Regions from separate parts of the Homo sapiens genome. Here region 2 is linked to region 1. The links are contacts of gene promoters, found by promoter capture Hi-C in human tissues and cell types (Jung and others, 2019). All regions are on one chromosome and are shown on one strand. Each heading gives the region's core, a stretch centred on a gene start or on the middle of the fragment in contact. The rest is flanking DNA. Distances are from core to core; before and after follow the strand shown. Region 1 holds the start of LRRC38 (leucine rich repeat containing 38). Region 2 has its middle 180 kb from the start of PRDM2.

What was found. The method cuts DNA at HindIII sites, captures the fragments that hold promoters and counts their contacts. A contact is called where the count stands out against the background at its distance.
Region 2: a fragment that was not itself captured here is called in contact with the fragment with the promoter of LRRC38 in region 1 in 1 of the 25 tissues and cell types used here (lymphoblastoid cells).

Annotation. Positions count from the first base shown.
Region 1 is chr1:13,510,586-13,517,848 of GRCh38, forward strand. LRRC38 (leucine rich repeat containing 38) reads right to left here and starts at 3,418. Exons shown (of 2, transcript NM_001010847.2): 1 at 2,378-3,418. The coding sequence starts at 3,008. LOC107984918 (a long non-coding RNA gene) reads left to right here and starts at 2,635. Exons shown (of 3, transcript XR_001737896.2): 1 at 2,635-2,756; 2 at 3,706-3,959; 3 at 5,585-5,679. The HindIII fragment of the contact is 3,544 bases long and covers 1,665-5,208 here.
Region 2 is chr1:13,880,947-13,888,209 of GRCh38, forward strand. No RefSeq gene overlaps it. Among named protein-coding and RNA genes, the nearest start is that of PRDM2, 180 kb to the left of the region's middle. The HindIII fragment of the contact is 3,085 bases long and covers 1,032-4,116 here.

The sequences.
Region 1 (7,263 bases), core at 2,168-4,667:
GCAAGCAGCTTGGTGCCAGTCTGGGCTCTGAGCTGTCTCTGTGAAAAGTAGAAAAAGCACAAATGCAGGAGGAGGAGGGAGGGGGCGGGGAACACCTGTTGAGCACCTACCACACGCCAAGCAAGACGGTGTTCTTTACAGAGATAATCTCATTTAAATCTCACAGCAAGCACGGCAGAGGACACCATTACCACATTCTGAATCCAGATGCAAAGAAACTGAGGCTTGGAGAGGTCAGGGACTTGCCTAAGATTATAAACCTGAGTCCAAACCTGAATGCGGGTCTCACTTCAAGGTAACTGCTGGAACCTCCACCACCCACCCTGCATGTGGCTTACAGTTTAGGAGATACTCTCGGGCCACACAGCATGGACAGTGGCAGTGAGACCAGAGCTGCTCATGGCACTGCACCCTGTGAGGTGCCCTGGAGCTGTGTCCGTCCTCTCCCTACTGGCTGAGACAAAGCCATACCCCCAAACCCTGTTCCCAGGGCTCTGGACATGGCTCCTTGCTCTGAACCTGTCCATCCTTCCTCCCGTCTTTCCTATCTGAGTCCAGTTTCTTCCCCACATCACAGACAGCAGGAGGAGGAACATTTCACTTCCATTGCTCGTTACTTTCACTCACATCACCTTGTTTGGATCTCGACAACCACTGGGTGGGATGGACTATGCAGCATTACCCATGTCTTGATTTCACTCAAGGGAAAGGTGAAGCTTAAAAAACTGGAGTGACCCACCCAGAGTCCCCCAGATTTTAGGCCAGGACTTAAATCCATGTCTTCAGATTCCAAATCCAGGGCTCTTTGGAGATCTCAGAGGTCAACGCAAGAATTCTAGAGATGAGGAAACTGAGGCCCAAATGGGACAAGTGGCCTGTTCAAGGTCACAGTCACCATGGCAGAACTGAGACAAACCCACAGCTCCTGACTTCATAAAACCTTGCCTTCACCTGGAAGACAACTGGAGCCAATAAACCAACCCAACCAACAACAGGGGTGAATGGTGCCAACCCCACTGAAAAGGAAAGGCAGAAGCAAGCAGAACCGAGGTGTACCCCATCCCACCATGAGCTTTTCATCCGGTCACTCCTGTCTCCAGGACCGAGTCTACTGGTGGGCAGGGTCTGGGAAACCAGACAAGTGGATGAGGACAAAGTTTAAAGGTGGGGACTCTGCACCCTGCAGGCCAGATCGTTTTAGGAATTTCAGCCAGCCTGGGCTGAAAGTGATGGCTCAGGGGCCTGCATTTGCTGAAGAGTGAGCACCCCGAAGCATGGGGTGTGTTTGATGACAGTTGGGAATGAAGATATGAATGCAGGAGTTCAGCACACAGATGAACAGCATCCTTGATTTCTCCGTAAATGGAAAAAAAAATATTCTGAAGCTAAATCTGCATGTATGTCACCTTTGATGATGTGCGCCTTGCAGCTGTGGTCCCAATTCTGCTGAAATCTTGGGAGCAAGGCAGGAGGCAGAGTTCAGCTCTGAGAGGTCACTGCGGGCACTGGTGCTCACAGGGTCACAAGTGGGAGGCTGGAATCCACTTGGGGGAAGGACACCCACCTGCCACCTGCCTCCTCACTCTGGGTGCTCATCCCTGTGGATGCTGGGGTCCCCTCCTTCTCAGCTCCACCCGTGCTCCCTTCCTGCGGGCCTTAATGGAGCCCCTTAACTCCCTCCGCCCTGGTGTTCCCATCTGCCAAGTGAGTTTTTATGCCCACGCCGCCATTGGAAGCGTGCACCAGGAAAGCAAAGGGGGCACCAGCCCTCTACATTTTGGTTCAGCTTTTTCACATCTGGCTGAAAAGCCACAGAGAACTACAAATCATTACTGCATCATTGGCTCTTAATGGGCTGCCATTATTCCACATCAGAAATCTTCCTCACCCATATTAGACAGAAGAGCAAACTGGAGCTGAGAAGCTGAGAGGCCAGGTTAGGCTCGGGAAGCTGCTGGAGAGCCCTTGGAACTGGCTGACTCCCCGTGCACGGTACTGAGAATACGGCCGTTTCCCATAGAGTAGGCTGCATTCCGCTTACCAGGGACGCATAAGTAATCCACACCCGCCAGTCCTAGGACCCAAAGCCCAGGGAGATGATCCTGGGCATCCCGAGAAGGGGAAGGTCCCTAACTTGGTAAAGTGAGTTACTGGAGAAACAGGGGAAGAAGTACAGCCTCAGGGTTCAGAAACTCCAAAGAATTCCAGATGCGTCCCTCTCCACCCACTTCCCCAGCAGAGACCCAGGAAAAGTTCAGGATCCCCCAAGCCTCCTCTTCCAAACTCAACCCACGGCTCCTCCCACCCAGACTGGGGTCTGGGGTGGCCTCTCCCTGCCCCCCTCCCTCCCTCCCCCAGCCTAGCCGGCTCGGCTCACCTTTGGGCAGTTTGGATGCGTTCTCCTGGATCCAGGAGAAGAGGTGGGCGAAGTCACAGTCGCACAGCCAGGGGTTCCCGTCCAGACGCAGGGAGCGCAGCGCGGGCAGCGCGGCCAGGGCGGCCACGCTGAGGCTGCGCAGGTTGTTGTCGTTGAGCTCCAGCACCTGCAGCGACTCCAGGGTCTCGAAGGCGTCCTCGTGCACGCCCACCAGGTTGTTGTTAGCCAGGCTAAGCTTCACCAGCCTCCCGGCCGAGCGGAAGGCGCCGGCGCCCAGCTGGGTCAAGTTGTTGTAGCTGAGGTCGAGGAACACGAGCTTGGCCGAGCCGCTGAACGTGCCCTCCTCCAGCGAGCGCAGCGAGTTGTTCCTGAAGTCCAGGTAGACCAGGTCGCCGTAGAAGATGAAGAAGTCCTCGGGGATCCGCTGGATGCGGTTGCCGGCCACCAGCAGCTTGCGCACGTCCAGGGGGAAAGGGTCTGGCACGCTGGGCAGCCCGCGGTCGCGGCAGTCCACGGTGTGCGGGTCGGTGCAGGCGCAGCCCGCGGGGCACGCGTGCCCGGGCGCGAGCAGCAGCAGAAGGCTGCAGAGCCCGAGCGCCGCGGCGGCGCAGGCTGGGGCTCGGGGGCGCATGGCCGGGGGGCCCGCGCCGGCCGCGGCGAGAAGGAAGCGGCTCTCGGAGCGAGCCCTGGCGCGGGACGGCGCGGTGAGGCACTGGCTGCCGGGCGCGGGGAGCCAGAGGGCGGCCCGGGCGGGGAGGGCGTGCGCCCGGGCGTGCGGGGGCGATGGAGCGCGGCGCGGACGGACTGGGGAGCCGGGACAGCAGGGATGGAGAGGGGAGGGGCGGGGAGGGAGGGGCGAGGGACTCACCAAAGGGTTTACCCGGACAGGAAATTAACCCGCTAGAAAAATCTCTTGGGAGAGGCGGGAGCGGCAGGGGTGGCCGAGTGGCCGTCGCCAAAACGCGGCCCCACCCTGGCAGCTGATTTCCGAGATCTGGCAGTAAGACGCCGCGCGCACCGGGCGGGCTGCACTCGACGTCTAAGTTCAGCTACCAAGCCCAGGAGCGGTTTCCCTAAGGCGTGTCCCGGGCGTGCGCCCTGCCCCCTCGCGCCCGCCTGGTGCCAAAGCACGCTCCCTGCACGCCACCCTATGTCGCCAAAGGGAGTGGGACCTGGGTCACTCTGACTCTGCTCCGGGGGCAATCCCTGCAGGTTCTCGGGTGCCGCGCCAGGGTCTGCTGGTCTGAATTTGGGCGGGGTTCCAAGGGGAGAGAGTGAGTGACTGGTCTTCCCTCTTCCCTCCCCCACCTGCACTTGAACCATCTTAGGCTGGAGGGTGAGCGAGGCAAGTGGCTGCCAGGGCCCCCGCTGTGGCCTGCAGGGCCAGTCAGCACTTTCCATGCCGGCCCCGAACTTCTGGATGGAACTGGCATCCATGCAAGGATCAGCTGCTGGTCTGAGAGGTCCAGCTGCTGAGGCTCTGAGGCCTGGAGTCACCAGGCCTGGCTTCCAAGCTGTGTGGCCTCAGACCAGTACCTCTGCCTCTGTGGACCTGGTAGCTCCATTTGTGAAATGGAAAAAGGTAATATATATCTCATCAGCTTTGGGGGAGGACCAAGAAGTCAAGAACAAAGTTCAAAAATTATCTTTTCCTCTCTCCCCCTCAAAACCCCACCTTGGATAGCCTAGGGAGGCAGTCAGGAACGTGCCAAGGCTGAGATGAAAGGACAGTGAGGAAATGCTGATGTCAGCCTCTGACACTGGCAGGAAAATTCCCTCTTCACCACCCCGATGCCAAACTCCTTTCTTTCTGTCCCACCTCATTCTAGAAACTTCTATATGGGGAGGGGTCCCCACAGAGCTACCAAGAGATTGTCCCGCTGTTGGCTATTTTGGTCCAAATGCCCTAGAATTGACAGACTCCCACTAGACCAAAATAACCCAGGGAACAGCTGTTGGGCAGCAGGCTCCCAGAGACCCTTCCCTGGCCCCTGGCCATGCTGGGGATTGGTGGAGCCTCGGATTCTGAAGCCATAAAGCTAAGCCCTCGGCCTTCTTCCAAAGGTACAGGCCGACTTGATGCCTCTGAGCCATGGGATGAAAAAACTGATCCCCTGGGATGGAGCCAAGGGCTCAACAGATGAGCATATTTGCAGGAGCCCTGGGGAAGAGGCGGGGGAGACCCAGGGGGAAGCTTTGAGGCACCTGGAGTCCTGCAGCTTTTCCCCTACTTACATTCCAGGCCACTAAGCCAGACCTCCCTCAGTTCTCCGTCTCTGTCTCCACTCTCCCAGGGTGCCCAATTTGCCATTGCCATCCCCAACTTCAAGGGCTCAGCTTCCCCACCCCAGTCTCATGCTCTTGAAGAGGCAGGTGTCGGGAGGAGTGGTCTGAATGCTCCCAGAGTGGATGAAAATGCTTCTGCCTACATAAATGATGTATAAATTATTGAAGAGTCACACAAAGTGCAGGCAGGTGGCAGAATAAACACATCTCCCACCCTTGCAACTCTGCAAAAGCAGCCTGAACCGAACTGTTGCACTCTGCCAATCTCAGGCTTGGTTCTGCCTGCTCCCTCCTGTACTGAGGGGAACCTATTACTGGTTTGAGCCCTTAGCATCATGGTTTCATGACACCCGCATTTGGTTGGGCTGCCATCTTGCACGTGCATGCCCGCGTGTCTGTATGTCTGGGTGTGTACACAAGCCCTCCCTGCCAAGTGGTCTGGTTGGCTGGAGCACTGACCTATATGAATCAAGACCCTGGGTCTGGTCCTGGCCCCACCACTAGCCACAGAATCTTTCACAAGCCACTTGATCTCTCTGGGGACTTCTTAGCCTGGGTCCCCAGATACTATGAAGAGGAGGTCTTTTCAAAATTTAAAAAAGTCTGGTGAAAATTAGGCCTTTATCTTTGAGGAGGTCTCCCGGATTAAATACTGCAATTCTTGCCAGTGAACTTAATGGTAGCACTAGTCCTTTTGTGCAGAACCGGCATTCATAGGTGACTTTAAGAAAAACAGAGATGAATTTCTACTGAATAAATGCAAGTATTTAGTTGACAAGGACTTGCAAAACAGGGGAATGCATGGTACTAAAATATTAAGAGGGGCTCTTGGTAACAAACCTATTGAGAAATACCACTCCTAGCCTTGATTTCCTCATCCTGAAACTAATGAAAAAATACCTTTCTTCTTCCTTTCCACAGACAACGTGAGGGCCGCATGGGGAAGTATTTGTATGGGAACATGATTTGAAAGGTCTTTGGAGAAATATTGCCAATAAAAGTGGCCACAAATCTTGCGATGGCAGGAACAATTTGTTTCCTCGAGTGTCCCCCAAAGTTCCTTGGATCCAAATGTAAGCATTCTTTTCATTAATATCAGCAGAACTAGACATGGTTGGGCTTTGTAGGGAGCAGGGAGGTATCTCAGATTCCAGAGCTCCCATCCCTTGGGGGAAATACAAGCTTTGCCACCTCTAAATTTTTCCCCCAACAAATAAAACAGAGCCATGACCTCAGCAAGGTCACAATATGAGTCAGTGATAGGCGCTAGAAATAGAACACAGGCATTCTGAGTCCCCACCTGCACCATTCACCAATTCACCCACTCACCCCCTCTCCAGGAAGGGAATCTCTTACCCTTGAGGGCAAACATTGCAGGTAACAAACATTGCAGGTAACAGGGAGGAACGTTGAGAGATTCCACTTGTCAGCTCTGTCTCCGTATGTATTCTCAGAGTCTGCACACTTTGTAATTCCTATTCAAAAGGCTCAAAGCAGGAGCGTGGCAAATACCCAAGGTATCCCTATGATTTAAACACCTGACGTCATGCCTTCCCCATCCCCCACCCCCAGCGGAATCCTCACTCCTCCCTGTGTTCTCCGAACTACAGAGCACGTCATGTCTCACTCTCCATCCCTGTCCAATTTCCCATGAGGTTGGGCCTTGGGAAGCTATGTGCAAGGCGGTCCCCAGGAAACCCACCACGCGATGCCAGGTTGCTGTAAGCAAGAAAAATTCAATAAGAAGAATATCCCCCTTTGTTCACCAGACTGACATCTAAATTAGCCAAAATCCTATGCCTTAAGTCGTAAACAAGATGCTGCCAGTATTTTATGTGCAGAAGTTGAATTTAGGTGCAAATGCTAGGTTTGAATAAGAGTATGGCTGGTGTCTGGTGATGTCATTTGCGTTACTGGCGTATTTCACCTCTGATCAGCACCTGACTGGCCTGGCCAGGGAGCGTGAGGACATCTCATGGGCCCCAGGAAAGGAGACACTCTCTAGCCTTTTACTTGGGGCAGCCTGCCTCGATGGAACAGGCTCCCTGCTCCACAGACACAATTGCGACTTTGTCACCAGCCCGTTAACTGGCTGCAACAGCAGCTCCATGTTCCCGTCCCACGGCCGCTGCCCTTTTTAGCTACCACCGCTAGGGAGCACCACCTGCGGCTCGCACTGCTCAAAACTGAGCGCTTCTCTCAACGCAGTTTACTCTCTGGAGCAAGGCTGGACCCCACGTTTTAGAAGAAAAACTCCCGCCCCTAGTTTTGCCTCTGGAAGCAGGAAATGAATCTTTCACCAGCCTAAATGGGAGCCAGGGTGGTGGTAGCCGTTGGGAATGTGGGTTTGAAGTTAAACAGATCTTGGGCAAGTTGTTTAACTTTTCTAAGCCTCAGTTTTCCCATCTAGGAAATGGGATAATAGTAATGTCTATTTCACGGGGTTGTTACGAGGATGAAATGAGGTGTCTGTTGAGGGCTTAGCAGTGAGACCTACACGTAGTGGAAACACAATACATGGTAACTGCATGATGATCTATTTCTCTCTCTTTCCACATGGAGCAAATAAAGGTTTCGTGTAGACAGATATTCCTCAGATA
Region 2 (7,263 bases), core at 1,324-3,823, 370 kb after region 1:
AGAAAGACTAGTCACAGAAATGGGAGAAGTTCTTAACTTTGATATCTAATTTATCAATCTTTTCCCTAATGGTTGGTGCTTTTTGTGTCTCGTTTAAGAAGTATTGCCCGCCCACCGTTACCAGAGCCATAGAGGTATTCTCTATCACTGTCAAGAAGTTTTGTTTTGCCTGGGTGTGGTGGCTCACACCCGTAATCCCGGCACTTTGGGAGGCTGAGGTGGGTGGATCACTTGAGGTCAGGAGTTCAAGACCAGCCTGGCCAACACAGTGAAACCCCGTCTCTACTAAAAATACAAAATTAGTTGGGCGTGGTGGCGGGCGACTGTAATCCCAGCTACTCGGGAGGCTGAGGCAGGAGAATCACTTGAACCCAGGAGGCGGAGTTTGCAGTGAGCCGAGATCGCACCACTGCACTCCAAGCCTGGGTGACAGAGCAAGACTCCGTCTGGGGAAAAAAAAAAAAGTTTTGTTTTGATTTCACATTGAAATCTACAATCTGCATGTAACTCACTTCCATCTATGGTGTAAAGTGGAGGTCAACTTTCACTTTTTTTCTCCATATGAATTTCCACTTGATTGACCGCCATTAAGCATCTCCGCTGCCCTGCAGTGATGGTGTTGTCCTAATGCAATAGTGAGTCAGCTTCTGGACACTTTATTCTCATTATTGATCTCTCTGTGTATTCTTAGCCCAATACCATGCTCTCCTAACTACTGAAGCTTAATTATCTGTCTGGAGCATCTGGTGGAACAAGTCTTCATTTCTGGTGGCCTTCACCAAGAGCTTTTGGCCCTTTGCCTTTCCAGTTAAATTCTAGAATCATCTTGTCAATGTTTACAGAAAATCTGCTTAAATTTTGATCTGATTAAATGTGTAGATTAATTTGGGAGAATTGAAGTTTTTACAACATTGAGTCATCAAACTATGACTCAGTGGTGCATGTCTTCATTTGTTTAGGTTCCTTTCCTTTCTGCCCGTCTCATAGATTTCTGTAGAGTGGTCTTAAGGGCTTTTTGTTAGATTTATTCCTTGTTATTTGATATATTTTGATGTTAATGTTATAGTTTCTTAAAGTTTATTTTGTTCCACATCCAGTAATATAATTTACATTTTAACGTGTACCTTATGCTTATGTAGCAACATTGCTAAGTTTATTCTAATAATTTATCTGTATACTTTTCTTTTGGGATTTTCTACCACAATCATGCCAACTGCAAATAGTGACAATTCTATTTTTCTATTTCAAACCTCAAATCTTGTCTCTTTTACTTCCAGTATAATGTTGTATAGAAATGATGATAGTGGCCATTCTTGTCTCATTCCTCATCTTAAGAGGAAGCTTTCAATATTTCATGAATGTTGTGAAGGATGTTTTCTGTAGGCTTTTTAATACAAATTATTTATCAGATTAAAAAAATTCTCTTTATTCTTATGACACTTTTTGAGATGTGAATTAAGGTTTGGCAAAGGGACAATTTTTGTAATGTTCTCTGTGTTTTTTTTTTTTTTCTGAAGAGAATGTATACGCTGTACTTGTCAGGCACAACTGATCCATTATATATGTCTGTTAGTCAATATGTTAATTGTGTTCAATTTTTCTGTATTGCTTGCTTTTTGTTTAGTTTTTCACTTCTGGGTTTAGTTTTTTGCAGTTTGTCAATTTTTTGCTCATGTTTGGAGGCTTGTTAAATTGATCATTTTGTTATTATGAAGGATGTTTTTGATTGCTAGAACTGGGTTTTTTTTTTTTTAATTTTTAAGTCTACTTTGTCTGATAGCAACATAGTATACTAGCTTTCTTTACAATTCTTTTTTCTCTCCTTTCCTGATATCTTTTGGATTGATTATTTTTATACTCATTTTCCCTTCCTATTAGTATGGTGATTTTGTACGCTTTTATAAACTTTCAGTGGTTATACAAGAGATTGTAGTATGTATCCTCGACTTATTAATGTCTAATATAAATTAATCCTTCTATTTTTCCCTGGACAATGCAAGGACCTTAGAACATTTTAATTCCATTGTTCTTCTTTCAACTTCTAAGCTATTTTTGCTCTGTATTTTATTTCTATATATACTTTAAATCCTACAGTGTATCACTGACCTGTTAATATAAGATAAATTAATGTTAACCATTAGTAATTATGAATTCATAGTCAACATTAAGTTATATTTAATTTAGACTTAGCCACAATTAACCTTTTCACAGCTCTTTGTTCGTTTCCATGGCTCTGAGCTTCCACTTGGCTTCATTTTTCTCCTCCTTGAAGAAACTCCCTTTAGTGTCTTCTTGATGTGTCTGCTGGTATTAAATTTTCCTAGATTTCTTTGGTCTGAAAATTTCTTTATTTCACCTACATTATTGAAGGATATTTTCAATGCATATAGAGTTCCACATGGCAATTATTCTCTTTGAGCACTTTGAAGGTCTCATTCACTGACTTCTGGTTTCCCTAGTTGGCGTTGAAGTCAGATGTGGGTCTCTGTTGTTGTACTGAAAGTTCTTTGTTTTCTCCTCATCCTGACTTCTACAGCTGCTTTTAAGACTTTCTCTGTTATTGGTTTTCAGCTTATTACTATGATAAGCCTAGGTATGATTTTCTTTTTATTTATCCTATTTAGGGTTCATTGAGCTTTTTAAGTGTTAATTTACACAGTTGCAAAGCTGTATTGATCAAGGTTCTTCAGAAAAACAGCGCCAATCGGATATATATAGACATAGAAGAGGAGATTGATTATGGGTCTTGGTTTGCATGATTACAGAAGCCGAGTAGCCCCATGATCTGCTGTCTGCAAGCTGAAGACCCAGGAAAGCTGGCGGTGTCATTCCGTCTGAGTCCAAAGGCCTGAGGACAAGGGGAGCTAATGTTATATCCCAGTCCAAGGTTGAAGGCCTGAGAACTGCGGTGGGGGCTGCTAGTGTAAGTCCTGGAGTCTGAAGGCCCAAGAACCAGGAGCCCCAGTCTCCAAGAGAAGGCAAAGATGAATGCCCCAGCTCCTCAAGAAGACACAGAGAGAGGGAGTTTACTTTCCTCTCTCTTTTTTTTGTTCTATTCAGGCCTCAACATATTGGATGATGTTCACCCAACATAGGTGAGGGTGGACCTTCTTTACTCAGTTGCTGATGCAGACACTGACCTCTTCCAGAACCACCCTCACCAACACACCCAGAAGTAACCAGCTATCTGAGTATCCTTTAACCCCTTCAAAAGCTTCTTGCAAGAGGAGATTTGATCTGACTCCTGAAAGGGGTTGAGTTTTGGGTCCTTTCTTTTTTGAAGGGCACGGATACTGCCTAGAGTCTGTCCCATTGCCCCTTCATCCTTGCAGATGCTCTGGATGGAGCATGTTTTAAGGGTCAGCTGAGTTTGCAGAAGCATCATATCCTGTCACCCATGTGCCAGGTTCACAATGCGTGTTCACTCCTGACGTCCCTGCCAACCCTGCCAGAAAGGGACCTGCTGAATTGTATAGTCTTAACCCTGTCATGTTGACACATACAATTCACCATCCGAGGTATTAACAGTTTCTCCTGATATTGCTTCTACTCCTTTTCTCCTACTTCTTTTCTTCATCCTCTCTTTCTTATTTGTCCTCCCTTTCTGGGATGACAGTTAAACCCATGTCAGACCTTTTAACTGAATCCCTATGTCTCGTCCTTTCCTCTATCTTTCCTATCCTGTTGTCTGTGCTTCACTCTGACTTTCTTCTGACTGATCTACCATTTCACTAATTCTTTCCACCTGTGTCTAATATCGATTTGGTAAATTTTTATAGTTTTTTCCCCCAAATCCTGTACCTTGCTCCATTTCCCTAACCATGTTAAGCAAACTTATTGTGGACTGTGTCTGATATCTGGATTGCTAGTGGTCCTTCCTTCCTGCCTTCCCTCCCTTTCTTCCTTCTCCTTCCTTCCTTCCTTCATTCCATCCTTTCTTCCTTCCTTCTTTCCTTCCTCCCTCCCTCCCTCCCTGCCTCCCTCCCTCCCTTCCTTCTTCTTCTTTTTCTTTTCTTGATAGGGTCTTGCTCTGTTGCCCAGGCTTGGAGTGCAGTGGTGTGATCTTGGCTCCCTACAATCTCTGCCTCTCAGGCTCAAGCTATCCTCCCACCTCAGCCTCCCCAGTAGCTGGGACTACAGGTGTGCACCACCATGTCCAGCTAATTTTTGTATTTTTTGTAGAGACAGTATCTCACCTTATTGCCCAGGCTGGTGTTGAACTCCTGAGCTCCAGCAATCCGCCCACCTCAGCCTCCCAAGGTGTTGGGATTACAAGCGTGAGCCACTGTGCCTGGCCTGGTGGTTTTCTTTTTGTTGTCTGTTTCTCTTGCCTTTTGACCATGTTGTCTTTGTCCAACTAATTGTTTTTCTTAAACTGTAGGAAAACTGAAAGAATAGTATAGTAAACATTTCTCCCACAAGTCATTTGAGAGTCTGCTGTAGACATGATGCTCCATCATTCCCAAATGTTTTAGTGTGTGTTTCCTACACATCAAGGACATTCTCCTACTAACCACAGCACAACTATGAAATTCAAGGAATTAACATTGATCCATCACTACTCTAATTTGCAAGCTCCATTCAAGTTTTATTGGAACAATTCAGGATCACAGGCTGCGTTTAGTCCGGTTGCCTCTTTACTTGCTTTCTATTTGGAACAGTTCCTCAGATTTCCCTTAACTTTTATGAACTCGCCACTTTAAAAAATTATAGGACAGTTATTTTGTAGGCTGTTCTTCAGTGTGGGTTTATAAAACGTTTTCCTGATTCGTTGCGAGTAATAGATTGTTGTCAGGAATACTGCAGAAGTGATGCTGAGTTTTCTTATTGCATCATTTTAGGTGGTACATGGTTTTGATTTATCCTATGACTAATGATGTTAACTTTGTTAACTAACTTTGATTAAGATAGTGTCTTCCAGGTTTGCCCACTGTAAAGTCACTCCTTTTACTTTTTGTGATTAATAAAGATTTTATGGGGACAGAGTTTGAAGCTGTAAGTTTACTGTTTCTCATCAAGCTTTCACCCACTAGATTTAGCATTCGTTGACATTTCCTGCCTGAATTATAACTATGAGAGGCTGTCAAATGGCAATTTTCCAAGTCCATCATTTTGTGCATCTATTGGTTGGCATTTGACTATAAAGAAGAACTTTTTCTTCTATCTCTCTATGCATTTATTTGTGGATATATTTATGTATCCATCCATCCATCCATCCATCCATCCATCCATCTATCCATATGGACATATAGATTTCTATTCAATGAGTTCTAATTCATTATCATCACTTTTATATAAAAATTATTCTTGATTTGGCCAGTGAGGGTTTCTTCAAGCTGGCTACTGTGTGTTTTTGGAATGTCTCCATCCATCTTGGAGAAGTTCCTTGCTTTCTGGCTAAACAACATGTCAAGATATCTTTGTGTTTTTCATGCACCAGCCCTGGACCAATCAGCTCTGGTTCCTTGTAGCAGAGGAATGATATTTAGAGCATAGATCTTGTTTTTAGGATAGCTCATTGCTATTGGGGTATCTCTGTTCCCAGGCCCTCTCAGTGGACAGAATTAGGGAATATAGTATGTATATTCTGATGGATACACACATACATCTAAATCTAGATTTATTTATGTGACTATATATAGATTAAAAACCAAGAGCTTATACCAATGTTTATAATTTCTATTCAGCATCACAGATTTCATTCTAGCTTTCCCTTGTCTCTAACAGTGAGACCTGGCTCCCATTATCCTCAGTATGTTTACTTATTTGCCCAATCTCATCCTGTGTAACCAATCTCCTATTGCTGTTGCTGCTTCTTGTGTGAATGCCTTTACTCATCTTACTTGGGCTCTGACCCTAAGGGATTTCTGTCATCCCTCCTTACTTCACAGATGTTGTAAGTTTCTGCAGTGCAGTGATTATCACATTTGTCTAACAAATGCCCCTTTATCTTGCTTGGGTTCTGACTTAGTATTGGGCTCCACCACCTACTCCTTTGGCAAGGATTTCTACCTCTCTTGCCCAGTGTTTTGCATTGAGTTGAATTATTCAGGAAGGAAGGAAGAAAAGTAGATACCTTGTTATTTTAAATTCAGTGCTAGACAGTATTTATGAAATTATAAAAATAATTTAAGACCTAGGGATAATGATGATGAGTGATGATAATGATATTCCTCCAGAGAAACATTATGTTCACTCCTATAGGTTCTGTTGTGACAGAATAAAAGACAATGTTAGCTCTTTCTGACCTGGATCTATTAATCAGTGATTTCTCTAGTCAAAGAAAGGGCTAACTTTATAAATAAGTCTGTTTAGAAATCTAATGAAGCTCCTTTTGAGCCAATTACTATTTCAGCATCTGCCATTTTTAAGGTTACTGGAATAATAGGACTTAGCTCTGCATCAGGACGTTAGAGCCCTCATACACAGCTGGTGGGAATGTAAAATAATAAAGCCACAGGAAAACACTCTGGCAGTTCCTCAGAGCATTAAACATAGTTACCATATGACCCAGCAATTCTAGTCCTTGATCTATACCCGAGATAAATAAAAATAAATGCCCACACCAAAAATTATACACAAATGGTTATAATGGCATTATTCATAATAGCCAAAATGTGGCAACAGCCCAATGTCTATCAACAGATGAATGGATAAACAAAATGTGGTATAGTCATACAATGAAATATTATTCAGTCATTAAAAGAAATGAAATATTGGTATATATTACAAGTTGAATAAACCTTGAAGAGATCGTGCTAACTAAAAGAAGCCAGACAAAAAGGTTCACATATCATATGATTCTATTCATAGGAAAATCCAGAATATGGAGATGAATGGATACAGAAAGTAGATTAGTGGTTGATTAGAGTTGAGAGGGTGTCGTGGAGTAGAGGTGAGAGCTAAAGTGTACGGGTATCTTTCTGAGGTGGTGAAAGCGTTCTAACATTGACTGTGGTGATGGTCGTGCATGTATTTGCATATACTAAAGATCACTGACTTGTACACTTCAAGTGGGTGAACCGTATGACATGTGAATTGTATCCCAATAAAGCTGCTTAAGCATTAAAAAAAAATAAAGACATTCATTGTGACTTGCTAGGAGCCTTGGATCAATCTGGAAACATTTGTGGGATATGAGTTAATAGCACAACTTCCCAAGGACATAGATAATAGCTAGTTTCAAAGCAGAGGACCAACCTGTAGGCCCATTCATCCTATAGATTACTACGAATGGCTGTATAACTTTCTGCCGGGTAATCT